Regions from separate parts of the Homo sapiens genome. Here region 1 is linked to region 2. The links are contacts of gene promoters, found by promoter capture Hi-C in blood cells and fetal thymus (Javierre and others, 2016). All regions are on one chromosome and are shown on one strand. The core of a region is centred on a gene start or on the middle of the fragment in contact, and the rest is flanking DNA. Distances in the headings are between cores, read along the strand shown.

Evidence for each region. The method cuts DNA at HindIII sites, captures the fragments that hold promoters and counts their contacts. A CHiCAGO score of 5 or more calls a contact.
Region 1: a fragment that was not itself captured here is called in contact with the fragment with the promoter of SLC25A2 in region 2 in 1 of 17 cell types (M1 macrophages); the score reaches 7.3 in M1 macrophages.

What each region holds. Positions count from the first base shown.
Region 1 is chr5:140,889,728-140,896,861 of GRCh38, reverse strand. The region is part of intron 1 of PCDHA1 (protocadherin alpha 1); the gene reads right to left. All of the region lies in intron 1 of PCDHA2 (protocadherin alpha 2), which reads right to left. The region is part of intron 1 of PCDHA3 (protocadherin alpha 3); the gene reads right to left. The region is part of intron 1 of PCDHA4 (protocadherin alpha 4); the gene reads right to left. It also overlaps PCDHA5, PCDHA6, PCDHA7, PCDHA8, PCDHA9 and PCDHA10, and 4 more genes. Among named protein-coding and RNA genes, the nearest start is that of PCDHA13, 11 kb to the right of the region's middle. The HindIII fragment of the contact is 1,307 bases long and covers 3,155-4,461 here.
Region 2 is chr5:141,300,740-141,307,181 of GRCh38, reverse strand. SLC25A2 (solute carrier family 25 member 2) reads left to right here and starts at 3,133. Exons shown (of 1, transcript NM_031947.4): 1 at 3,133-4,547. The coding sequence starts at 3,317. The coding sequence ends at 4,222. RefSeq lists a silencer at 6,204-6,442. The HindIII fragment of the contact is 3,271 bases long and covers 2,646-5,916 here.

The DNA.
Region 1 (7,134 bases), core at 2,559-5,058, 410 kb after region 2:
TTATTATGTACCCATAAAATTAAAAAATAAAAACAACTATGAACAGAGTAAACAGACAACCTACAGGATGGGAGAAAATATCAGCAAACTATGCATCCAACAAAGGTCTAATATCCAGAATCTATAAGGAACTTAAACAAATTAACAAGCAAAAAACAAACAACCTCATCAAAAAATGGGCAAAGGGCCGGGCACAGTGACTCATGCCTGTAATACTAGCACTTTGGGAGGCCAAGGCAGGTGGATCACTTAAGACCAGGAGTTCGAGACCAGCCTGGCCAACACGTCAAAACCCCATCTCTACTTAAAATACAAAAAAAAAAAAGAAAAATAGCTGGGCTTTGTGGTGTGTGCCTGCACAGTCCCAGCTACTCAGGAGGCTGAGGCAGGAGAACCGCTTGAACCCAGGAGGTGGAGGTTGCAGTCACACCAGTCAGAATGGCTATTACTAAAAAGTCAAAAATAACAGATGCTGGTGAGGTTGCAGAGAAAAGGGAATGCTTATACACTGCTGGCGGGAATATAAATTAGTTTAGCCACTGTGGAAAGCAGTTTGAAGATTTCTCAAAGAACTTACCATTCAAGCCAGCAAATCCCATAACTGTGTACATAACCAAAGGAATATAAGTCATTCTACTATAAAGACACATGTATGTGTATGTTCATCATGGCACTATTCACAATAGCAAAGACAGAGAATAATCCTAAATGCCCATCAATGGTGCACTGGATAAATAAAATGCAGTACATTGGCCAGGCACAGTGGCTCACGCCTGTAATCCCAGCATGTTGGGAGGCCGAGGCAGGCGGATCACCTGAGGTCAGGAGTTCGAGACCAGCCTGGCCAACATGGAGAAACCCTGTCTCTACTTAAAATACAAAAATTAGCTAGGCCTGGTGACAGGCACCTGTAATCCCAGCTACTCGGGAGGCTGAGGCAGGATAATTGTTGAGCCCGGGACGCGGAGGTTGCAGTGAGCCGAGATCGCGCCATTGCACTCCAGCCTGGGGTACAAGAGTGAGACTTTGTCTGAAAAAAATACAATACAATACAATACAGTATTGTACATATACGTCATTGAATACTATGCAGCCATAAAGAAAGAAAAAGATCATGCCCTTTGCAGCCCATTGAATGGAGGTGCAGGCCATTATCCCAAGTGAATTAATATAGAAACAGAAAACCAAATACTACATGTTCTCACTTATAAGTGGGAGCTAAAAAAGAATGTGAAAAGACAACACCCTCAATGAGAAAATCTTTGCAAATTATATATCTAATAAAGTAATTGCATCTAGAATATATAAAGAACTCTTACAACTCAACAATTGAAAAACGAATAAACCAATTAAAAATTGGGCAAAAGTTCTGAATAGGTATTTCTCCGAAGAGGATAAAGAAATGACCAATAAGCACATGAAAAGAGTCTCAGGAGGAAGCAAAAGAAGGTTATGGGGCTTTTGATGGTGTTGAGAATTGAAGAACTCCAAAAAGTGCCAATAAGTACTCACTGGAAAGCATAGTAAAACAATTTGAGAACAATAGTCATGGGTGGAAGGGGGGAAATCGAAGGTCCTAATTCAATTATCCCTGAGTAAGAAAAAAAAGAAAGCTTTGAAAAGAGAGATGAGAAAACTCAGTAAAATATTAGAAATAAAAGCAAATTCAAAACTTAGCAGAAGGGACTACAAATAGATTGGATTGTGCTAAACCTGTCTTAGCCCTATGAACTTGTCAACTAACAAATGTCTTCTTGTAGCAAAAACCCCTATACTGAGGAGGAACTGATAGGAATTGAGTCCATATGAAGCAGAATGGTGTGGGTGGGGGACAATTAAACAAAGGAAAAAGGTCCAAGTAAAAAGGGTAAAGGATGTCACAAAGTAAGACATTAAAAAATTATATTTTTATCATTTCATGACAATAGCTGAATAGAAATCTATAGAGCAACAAAGATAGGAAAATTATCCTGGTCTGTTTCTTCTAAAATTATGGGGGAGCACTTTTCATATAAAAATGAGCATAAGAAAAGGATTATGGGCAAATCTGATATAAAATTATTTTTAAAGGAGAGGACAAATAATTACACTAAAGGAAATAAATACACACAAGAAAAAAAATTCCACAAATTGCTACGTAATATTTGAAAACAACTTAAACATTTTTAGAAAATAATGAAAAGCTATGCAAGAATACACAAATCAGAATTAGAGAGACTCAGTAATGATATGATTGGAGAAGAAAAGCTTTGAAAAGAGAGATGAGAAAACTCAGTAAAATATTAAAAAAAAGGAAAATAATTTTTTCAGAAGTAAACACTAAACCAGAAGGCACATAACAGCATATAAACACTATGGATAATGCCTAAAGAAAACTATAAGATGAAAACAAGAATAAAAAGTAAAATATTTTTTAAAAAAGAGCTAGGTAGGATTTAGGAGTGTTAGCTACAAAAGAAAAGCAAAGAATATCTAATACAAATATAATTGGAGCCATTGAAGAAGAAATCTGAAGTAATAAAACAGAAGAAATACTAAAATCTATAATTTAAGAAAACTTTCCAGGAAAATAAACTTCAAAAATACTTGTAAATAAGCTACCACTTGTAAAGAAAAGAAAATTACATTGTCATTCAACATCTTTAAAATGAGAATATAATAGCATAGAAAAAATATATAACTATGGAAAGAAAGTCAAAATCAGGGATAATTACATAGAAGGGAATTATTTCAAGTTATTTGAAACTTCTCATCTGCAACACCAGGAGCTAGAAGATACTGGAATAAAATAAATGTATTTAAAAATCAATTCAACAGAGGACTTACATTACCAGTATGCAGAACTGGTAATTTGAACCAACCATACAATTGGAGATATTTTAAAATTATAAAAGTATCTAATGACTAATAAAGTCATGCAGAATTAACAGGTAGAGATTCTGAAAAAGACCACAAATTCAGAAGGTAAAGTAACTTTCTGGCCACTTTGGATCTGGGTTGTTTCTATACAAGAGGTAGGGCATCAGGATGGCTGAGTAGTCTACGGTACCAGACTCAAGACAAGGAGGGAATTCTAAAAACGGTAAAAGAAAAGTGACAAGTCACCTATAAGAAAATTCCCATCAGACTAACAGCAGATTTCTCAGCAGAAGCTTTACAGGCTAGGATAGAATGAGATGATATATCCAAAGTGCTGAAATTTTTTAAAACTATCAGCCAAAAATACTATACCAAGCAGAGCTATACTTCAGAAATGAAGGAGAAATAAAGTATTTCCCAAACAAGCAAAAACTGAGGAAGTACACTACAACTAGATAAGTCCTACAAGAAATACTTAAAGGAGTTCTACAACTGCTTTTTTTTTCTTTTTTGTGAAGAACAGGGTCTTGCTATGTTGCCCAGGCTGGTCTTGAACTCCTGGCTTCAAGCGATCTTCCTGCCTCTGCCTCCCTAAGTGCTGGGATTACAGGCATGAGCCACTGTCCCATAAATGCTGTTGGTGGGCATGTAAATTAGCACTGCCACTAAGGAAAACAGTATGGGAGTCCCTCAAAAAACTACAAATAGAACTACCATATCATCCAGCAATTCCACTATTGGGCATTTATCCAAAGAAAAGGAAACCAGTATGTCAAAGTGATACCTGCACCTCCCATACTTACTGCAGCACTATTCACAATAGCTACTATGTGGAATCAACCTCAATATCCATCAACAGATGAGTGGATAAAGAAAATGTGGTGTATATGCACAACGGAATATTATCCAGCCATAAAAAAGAATGAAATCCTGTTATTCATGGCAGTATGGCTGAGCCTGGAGGGCATATGTTAAGTGAAATAAGTCAGGCACAGAAAAATAAATACATGTTCTCACTTATACGGCAGCTACAAAATTTTATTGAGCTCATGGAAGTAGTATTGTGCTTATCAGAGGCTGGGAAGGGTGAAGGAAAAGGAGGATGGGGAAAGGTTGGTTAATGGATACGAAATTATAGCTACACAGGAGGAATGGGTTGTGGTGTTTTGCAGCACTGTAGCACTGTAGGATAAATATGGTTAACTATAATTTCTTACATATTTTCAAGAAGCTAGAAGAGTGGATTTTAAATGTTCACCATGCAAAAATGGTAAATGTTTGAGATTATGAATATGCTAATTACCCTGATTTTATTATTATACATTGTATATATGTATCAAAATGTCACTCTGTATCCTATAAATATGTACAATTATTATGTACCAACTGGAAATAAAAGGAAAAAAATAGGTGAATGAATACTGAGATATACTTTTGACAGTCTCCAAGGACTAGAGAAACAAAAGTCAGAATCCTGAGTCTACCAGTCATGGTGGAACTTCTTAAACAATCTCTCATGTTTGGCTAGGAAACTGAATAACCGTACTTAAAGAATACATGTAAATTTTAGATAATGAGGTTTTATCTAGAATACCTGAAGCTTGAAATAGATTAAGATTACCCATGATTGCTAGTGCCCCAAGATGCCTGGCAAAAGTCAATTAAAATCCATTCTGGAGAAAGAAAATGTTATAAGCCCCAAATTATTTCCAGGAAGAAGTGTTTAATACAACTTTCAGCACAAAATCAAAGATAACCAGGTTTATGTGGAGACAAAACACCATAAAGATACAATTTTAAAACACACCACAGGAATAGACCCATGAGGATCCCAGTTACTGGACATATCAGAAATAGACGCTAAAACCATGAGCTTATTGTGTTCCAGATATAAATGCCAAGCTTGAAAGTTTCGAGAGGAAACTAGAAATTATACAAAGTAACAATAAATTTGAAAAAGAATAAATAAAAGTATCTTAGACCATTTGTGCTGCTATAACAGAATGCCACAGACTGAGTAATTTATGAGAACGGAAATTTACTTCTCACAATTCTGGAGCCTAGGGGAAGTCCAAGATCAAGGCACCAGCATCTGGTGAAGATCTTCTTGCTGCATCGTCACATGACAGAGCCAAAAGCATAAGAGAGGGACAGGCTCCTTCCATCAAGTCCTTTTACAGTGCCGTTAATTTATTCATGAGGGCAGATCCCTCATAATCTAAACATTTCCTGAAATTCCCCACCTCCCAACACTGTTGTATAAGGGATTGAATTTTCAACACATGAATTTGGGGGTACAAATTCAGACAACAGCAAGAAGAGAGAATTATTAAACTTTAAGGTGGGTGAACTATCCACAATAAAGCCCAAAGAGCAAAAGGTGTTAAAATAAAAGGTAGAAATAGATGGGATAGAGTAATAAGATTAAAATATGTTTAATTAGAGTACTAAAATAATACTATAGAAATACAATGGAACAGAAGCAACATTGGAGAACATTATAGCTGAGGATATGCTCAAAGTGATGTAAAGGCATTAATTCACAAATTCAAAAATCCTATACAATGGACGTTGGGGACTTGGGGGCAAGAGTGGGGGGTGGCGAGGGATAAAAGATTGCAAATATGGTGCAATGTATACTGCTCAGGTGATGGATGCACCAAAATCTCACAAATCACCACCAAAGAACTTACTCATGTAATCAAATACCACCTGTACCCCCAATAACTTACGGAAAAATTAAAAATTAAAAAAAATCCTACTGAATCCAGAACAGGATGATTATAAAGACACAGCATGGTAAAACTGCAAAATATCAGACACACAGAAAATCTGAAAAGCAGCCAAAGGAAAATAAACAGAATACCTTTAAAGGAATGACATTTAGATTGACAGCTAAATTCTTGACAGCAACAATGGAAACCAGTAGACACTGGAATAATATTTACTATGTGCTGTGGGGGTCACACCTAAGATTATACCCTCAGAAAAAATGCTTTTCAATAATTATGATGAAATAAAGACATTTTCAGAAAAACAAAACCTGAAATCATTCCTCACCAGCATCTTTGGACTAAAGGAAACTCTCAAATTATTCTAACATGGAAAGACAATAATCCCTGATGAAAGGTCAGAGGGGCAAGAAGTAAGGAAGAGAAACAAAACTGGTAAATATGTAAGTACATTTAAAACAATGTTGATTGTATAAAATAATACTAATATCTTATGGGGTTTTAAAATATTTTTAAAGCATGACAGAAATAGTATATAAGTCAAAAGGGATTAAAAAGATTTTAAAAATGTAAGGTCCCTGCATTTCCCAGAAGGAGGAAGGGTTTCAGTTAACTTTTGATTTTGATATATCAAGGATACATGCTTAATTTTCTAGGGTAAGCACTAGCTATTCGGAAAAGGGCTTCCAAATAATACAGAAGGAAATGGAACAATAAAAAGTACTCAGTCATTTCAAAAGAAGATCAACAAAGGAAGGAAATAGAGACATAAAAATGGTGAGACAAAAATAACGCACAAAAAATTGAAATATTTGTGCCTAAAGATATCACTAGGTATTGTAAATATAAACTAAATAAATATTCAAGTTAAAATTTATAGATTATCTAAGAAAGAGTACTTGTTCAGGTTATCCATTGCTATATAGTAAACCATCCCAACTACCTAATATCTTAAAACAACTTAATATTACCTCTCCTGGTTCTGACTCAACTGAGTGGTTCTTGCTTGCAATCAGGTGCAGTAGTGTACTGGTAAATGCTTAACAACTAGGTCTCTGGGAAAAAAGAAAAACAAAAAACTCTGTTTTGTAGCATTTGCCTATTTCTGTGGCAGAAATACTCCTACCATGGCCAATTTCAAGCTACCAAAGTGACATCATTGAATCCAGAGTTGGGAATAAATTTGCATTATCAGTTCTCATAAGCCAGTAAAAGAGCCAGCTCCAACACACTACAGTCACCTGAAGCCTTCTACATTTTTCTGGCACCTAAGCTTGGAAAGCTAAGACAACTGGAGACTGGATAGTAATTTTTCTATCCATTTGGCTTCTCACAAGTCCAGCTTGAGCTTCTTTACAGTATGACAATCTCAAGGTAGTCAGAATTCTTACATGGTGGCAGGCTTCCCCCAAAACAAATATTCTCAGAGACCAAAGCATACTGTAAGACTTCTTATGACCTGACTTCATAAATCCCAGAATGTTACTTCCAATATTAAGACCAGTCAAAGTTCAAGGAAAGAAAAATTAGACTCTGCTACTCA
Region 2 (6,442 bases), core at 1,884-4,383:
TTCAAGGAGTACATGTGCAGGTGTGTTACATGGGTATGTTGTGTAACGCTGAGGTTTGGGCTTCTAGTGAACCCGTCACCCACATAGTGAATGTAGTACCCAACAGGTAGGTTTTCAACCCTCAATCCCTCCCACCCTCCCCACTTTTGGATTCCCCAGTGTCTGTTATTCCCATCTTTATGTCTTTGTGTACCCATTGTTTAGCTCCCACTTATATAAGTGAGAACATGCAGTATTTGATTTTCTGGTTCTAAGATATTTCACCTAGAATAACAGCCCCCAGCTCCATCCATGTTGTGAGGGACATAATTTCATTCTTTTTTATGGCTGCATAGTATTCCGTGGTATACATATACCACATTTTCTTTATCCAATCAACTATTGATGAACACTTACATTGATTCTGTGACTTTCCTGTTGTGAATAGTGCTTCCATAAACATATGAGTGTAGATGTTTTCTGGTTTTTTTTTTGGAGACAGGGTCTTGTTTTGCCACCCAGGCTGGATCATAACTCACTGCAGCCTCCAACTCAGCTCAGTCAATCCTCCCATCTCCGCCTCCTGTGTAGCTGCCACTACAGGGGCATGCCATCATGCATGGCTACTTTTTGTATTTTTTTGTAGAGATGGCATTTTGCCATGTTGTCCAGGCTGGTCTGGAGCTCCTGGGCTCAAGCGATCTACCTGGCTTGGGCTCCCAAAATTCTGGGATTACAGGTGTAAGTCACTGTCCCCAGCACAGGTGTCTTTTTGATAAAATGATTTCTTTTCCTTTGGGTAGATACCTAATAGTGGGATTGCTGGGTTGAATGGGTGTTCTATTTTTAGTTCTTTGAGAAATCTCCATACTGCTTTCCATAGGGGTTGAACTATTTTACATTCCCACCAACAGTGTACAAACGACAAATTTCTACTTCTGCATGAGGCTGTGTGGGTCCTCAAAGAGAATCTCAAAACTTAGAAAGCATAGTGCTGAGCCACCCAGCTCTTTTCTATCAAGTTTCTTAGCAATGCAGTATATAAATACTATCCATTTTCCAAGTTGATTTTATAGTGCCGTGTTCTATCTTCAGAAATGATAAGGACTCCACGTTCCACCAGTTCCCAGGGCTGCAACCCCAGATCCTTGGGGATGTTGCCATGTGATAGCATTTCTCCAGCTCTGCAGGAAAGCAGTAGCACATCTCCAGGGCTAAGGATTCCCACAGTGCCCTACTCCCCTCCTTGCCCCCCAGGAAAGTGAGGAGCGTGGGCAGATCGCTGAGGGTTTTCTGATCAAAAGCAGTCACTGTCTCTCATGTAGCAACCCTCAGATCGTTTCGTTACCGGACAGGGGTCCCGATCCAGACCCAAGAGATTGTTCTTGGATCTCATGCAAGAAATAATTTGGGGCAAGTTCATAGAGTCAAGTGAAAGCAAGTTTATTAGAGAAGTAAAGAAGCAAAAGAATGGCTACTCCATAGGCACAGCAGTGGCCTGGGCGGCTTGACTAAGGATACTTACAGTTTTTTATTGAATGTAAGCTAAACAAGGGGTGGATTATTCATGAGGTTTCTGGGAAAGGGGTCCAAAGTTACCGGAACTGAGGATTCCTCCCCCTTTTTAGACCACATAGGGTCACTTCTTATTGTTGCCATGGCATCTGTAAGTGGACACGGCGCTGGTGGGCGTGTCTTTTAGCATGCTAATGCATTATAATTGGCGTATAATGAGCAGTAAGGACGACCAGAGGTCACTTATTATGCCATCTTGATTCTGGTGGGATTTGGCTGGCTTCTTTACTGAAACCTGTTTTATCAGCAAGGTCTTTGTGACCCGTATCTTGTGCCGGCCTCCTATCTCATCCTGTGACTTAGAATGCCTGTCTTCCTGGGAATGCAGTCCAGTAGGTCTCGGCCTTATTTTACTCAGTCCCTAGTCAAGATGGAGTTGCTGTGGTTCCAGCGCCTCTGACAGTTTGTCTTCTCTACTTTATTTTTTGTAGGGGGTAAGGGGTGTCTCATTTTGCTGCCCAAGCTAGCCTTGAACTCCTAGGCTCAAATGAGCCTCCCTCCGCAGCCTCTCCAAGTGTTGGGATTACAGGCATGAGCCACCACACCTGGCCTGTCTTATCTACTTTAAAGCAGTTTTCTTGTAGATTGACCCTCTGAATTCAGGGTCTATTCAAGTGAGGGCATCTTCTTTTCGGGTTGTTTGTTTTTGTTTTTTGCATGGTAAGAAGCGTGGGATAGGCCGGGTGTGGTGGTTCATGCTTGTAAGCCCCAACACTTTGGGAGGCCAGTGGGTGGATTGCTTGAGTTCAGGAGTTCGAGACTAGCCTGGGCAACATGGCGAAACCCCGTCTGTACAATACAAAATTTAGCCAGATGTGGTGGCTTGCGCCTGTAGTCCCTCTAGTCTCAGCTACTCAGGAGGCTGAGGTGAGAGGATCGCCTGAGGCCAGGAGATTGGGGCTGCAGTGAGCCAGGATCGCGCCACTGAACTCCAGCTTAGGCGGCCGAGTGAGACCCTAAGTCAAAAAAAAAAAAAAGAGAGAAAAGAAAAGAAGCAGGGCTGACTGATTAGGACAGCATTTCTTTTGCCGCCAGCTGAACTGCGGCGTCTAGAGTTCCCGGCCATAATTGCAAGAATTTATCGAAAAGCTTTACATGTTTTCTTGGTTTTGGTTTTGTTTTGAGACAGAGCCTCACCCTTTCGCCCACCCTGGAGTGCAGTGTGCGATCATAGCTCACTGCAGCATCGACCTCCCGGGTTCAAGCGATCCTCGCTTCATTCTCCTGAATTGCTGGGACCACAGGCGCGCGCCATCGCGCCCGGGTATTTTTTCGTTTTTGTAGAAATGGAGTCTTGCCATATTGCCCAGGCTGGTCTCGATCTCCTGGGCTCAAGCGATCCTCCCGCCTCGGCCTCCCAAAGTGCTGGGATACAGGAGTGAGCCACCGCGCCCAGTCGCAGTACACTAAAAGTATTTATTCGGTCCGCGTCCCCCGCCTGCGGGTGCAGGGATGGCGGCTCCAGGCTGGAGGCGGCTGGGGGCCCGGCCAGTGCGCCAGGAGCCGCAGGAACGCTAGTGAGCCGCGCGCTGGGCCGGCAGCTGGGGGTTATTTTAGTGCGCGGGGAGGGGGCGGCCCGCGGCGGAGCGTAGGGTTGAGCGGCTTCCCCCGCACTGGGGTGAGAGCCCAGAACAGGCGGTAGAGCCACCCCACCACCCCCAACTCCATTCCCCGCGCTCGCTGCGGCTGGACGTGAAAAGCCGGTCTCACGCTCTGGGGAGTTAGTCGCCTTCCACTGGGACCCTCAGACGAGTGAGCGAACATGAAGTCCGGTCCTGGCATCCAAGCCGCCATCGACCTCACAGCGGGGGCCGCAGGGGGGACAGCGTGTGTACTGACTGGGCAGCCCTTCGACACAATAAAAGTGAAGATGCAGACGTTCCCTGACCTGTACAAGGGCCTCACCGACTGCTTCCTGAAGACATACGCTCAAGTGGGTCTCCGGGGCTTCTACAAGGGCACCGGCCCGGCACTTATGGCCTACGTCGCCGAAAACTCGGTCCTCTTCATGTGCTACGGGTTCTGCCAGCAGTTTGTCAGGAAAGTGGCTGGAATGGACAAGCAGGCAAAGCTGAGTGATCTCCAGACTGCAGCCGCGGGGTCCTTCGCCTCTGCATTTGCTGCACTGGCTCTCTGCCCCACTGAGCTTGTGAAGTGCCGGCTACAGACCATGTATGAAATGGAGATGTCAGGGAAGATAGCAAAAAGCCATAATACAATTTGGTCTGTCGTGAAGGGTATCCTTAAAAAGGATGGCCCCTTGGGCTTCTACCATGGACTCTCGAGTACTCTACTTCAAGAAGTACCGGGTTATTTCTTTTTCTTTGGTGGCTATGAACTGAGCCGATCGTTTTTTGCGTCAGGGAGATCAAAAGATGAACTAGGCCCTGTCCATTTGATGTTAAGTGGTGGAGTTGCTGGAATTTGCCTGTGGCTTGTCGTGTTCCCAGTGGATTGTATTAAATCCAGAATTCAAGTTCTTTCCATGTATGGGAAACAGGCAGGATTTATTGGTACCCTCTTAAGTGTTGTGAGAAATGAAGGAATAGTAGCCTTATATTCTGGACTGAAAGCTACTATGATTCGAGCAATCCCTGCCAATGGGGCACTGTTTGTGGCCTACGAATACAGCAGGAAGATGATGATGAAACAGTTGGAAGCATACTGAAGTGTCTTGGTGAACCTGGATCCGAGTCCATGAGTTTGAGGACTACAGTTCATCACAGGGTTCAGCAGAGTACAAGACCACTGTCTAATTTTGACTTCATGGGAATTTTGGTTTTATCTTCCCTTCTTCTACCCTAAATCTTAACTTTATGGAAGGGCCTCTATTTTACATCATATAATTTCTGCCCATAATTGTATTGAAATAGGAAAGTTGCTGCTCTTGCACTTGCTGGAATGTACAGGGTGGGCTGGTTGGCCCTATGTACCTAATCTGAAAAACTAAATATCGTTCTGTCAGGGCCTTTGCATAAAGCCATTTGTGTGTACATGCAGTTTGGATGATTCTATGTCGTGAGTGAAACAATTTAGTTCTATATATAATCTCAAATATCAGCCCCCCAAACCCAGAATTGACCATATTTTGTGAAGATAGGTATGAATGATTACTTAGGATCACTCTCTCTTTTTTTCTTTTTTTTTGGAGACAGAGTCTCACTCTGTCGCCCAGGCTGGAGTGCTGTGGCATGATCTTGGCTCACTGCAACCTCTGCCTGCCTGGTTCAAGCGATTCTCCTGCCTCAGCCTCCCGAGTTGCTGGGATTACAGGTGCCCGCCACCATGCCCAGCTAATTTTTGTATTTTTAGTAGGGATGGGGTTTCACCATGTTAGCCAGGCTGGTCTCGAACTCCTGACCTCAGGTGATCCACCCAGCTCAGCCTCCCAAAGTGATGGGATTATAGGCATGAGACACCGCACCCGGCCAGGATCTCTTTTAAAGTCTGCTTAACATGCGCACTACATTAGGCGGTTCAAGTTTTGAAACATCTTCATGTGGTGCTTGATACCAAAATACTCCTCTCTCTCTCTCTCTCTCATATATATATATATATGAGAAAAAGTATATATATATATATACTTTTTTTTTTTGAGATGCAGTCTCACTCTTGTTGCCCAGGCTGGAGTGCAGTGGCACGATCTTGGCTCACTGCAACCTCCGCCTCCTGGGTTCAAGTGATTCTTCTACCTCAGCCTCCCAAGTAGCTGGGACTACAGGTGCACGCCACCACACCCGGCTAACTTTTGTGTTTTTAGTAGAGATGGGGCTTTGCCATGTTGGCCAGGCTCGTCATGAACTCCTAACCTCAGGTGATCCACCCGCCTAGGCCTCCCAAAGTTCTGGGATCACAGGTGTGAGCCGCTGCGCCTGGCCTCATCTATATTTTTAAGAGGAGAAGGTACCTGCATACCAGTGTGGCTTTGACATTCTTGAGTTAAAAGTTTCAGAGTAAGCATTGTGGATTTTCCCAAGAAACAATACCCTTAATATAGTGTTATCCATTTTCAAAGTGGGATTATATTCTGCACTCTGCCTATATGGTTAGGGATGATCTAGAGTATCATCAGGCCTTGGGGAATCCACACAGCCTTCCTGCGCCAGCTTCCGTTCTCCCCCTCAAACGAGCTGGGCTTTAGTTCGAGGAAGGAGCTGTGCACCTCTGCTTTGATGAAGACCCATGTGGCTGATAACAGTTCTTAGCTTCCAGTCTCTGGGTCCTGGCCTGGGTAGGACTCAAGGGTGTTCTATCGGCCCATTTAGAGGTTGTTGATTCATTTTGGGTCACTCACTGTCCTTTCTGCCTCCATCAGCCAGAAACCTTCCTGGGGAACAGAAAGTGACAAAGCTAAGAGAAGCTTTTGTTCCCTATTTGCTAATAATACTTGTGGGTAAAAGTCATCTACTCTCAGATAGAACTAGACAGAACTTAGTGCTTTTGCTCCACAATGAGTCATGTTAGGGACAACCCTTTCTTGAAGTTTACCTTGGGGTCCATAATACCTTCCCATGCCTTTACAGTGCTAGAGTCTTCTAAATTTGGTACTGTTCATCAGTAAATTTTAATGATAACTACGTATGGGGTGTGACTAAGGAATGAAACAGAAGAAAAGTAATTTTATTGAACTATATACCATATGTATGTATATGTACACTGTCAAAACCCCTCCAAAACAAAGAAAAACCCCCAACCCCAAAACGTAGTTCATTTATCTGATCCCCACAGACTTGGAGATAAGCAACTGTTCTTTGGCCATGTCATTCTTGTCACCACTAAAGTAAGCCCCATCATTCTGTGTTGCTCCAAGACCACCAGCAGGGTCTCTTTCAGTATCAAGTTTTCTTAAGCAGCCTCTAAAGCTGAAAAGAAGCAGGCTACCAGTCTT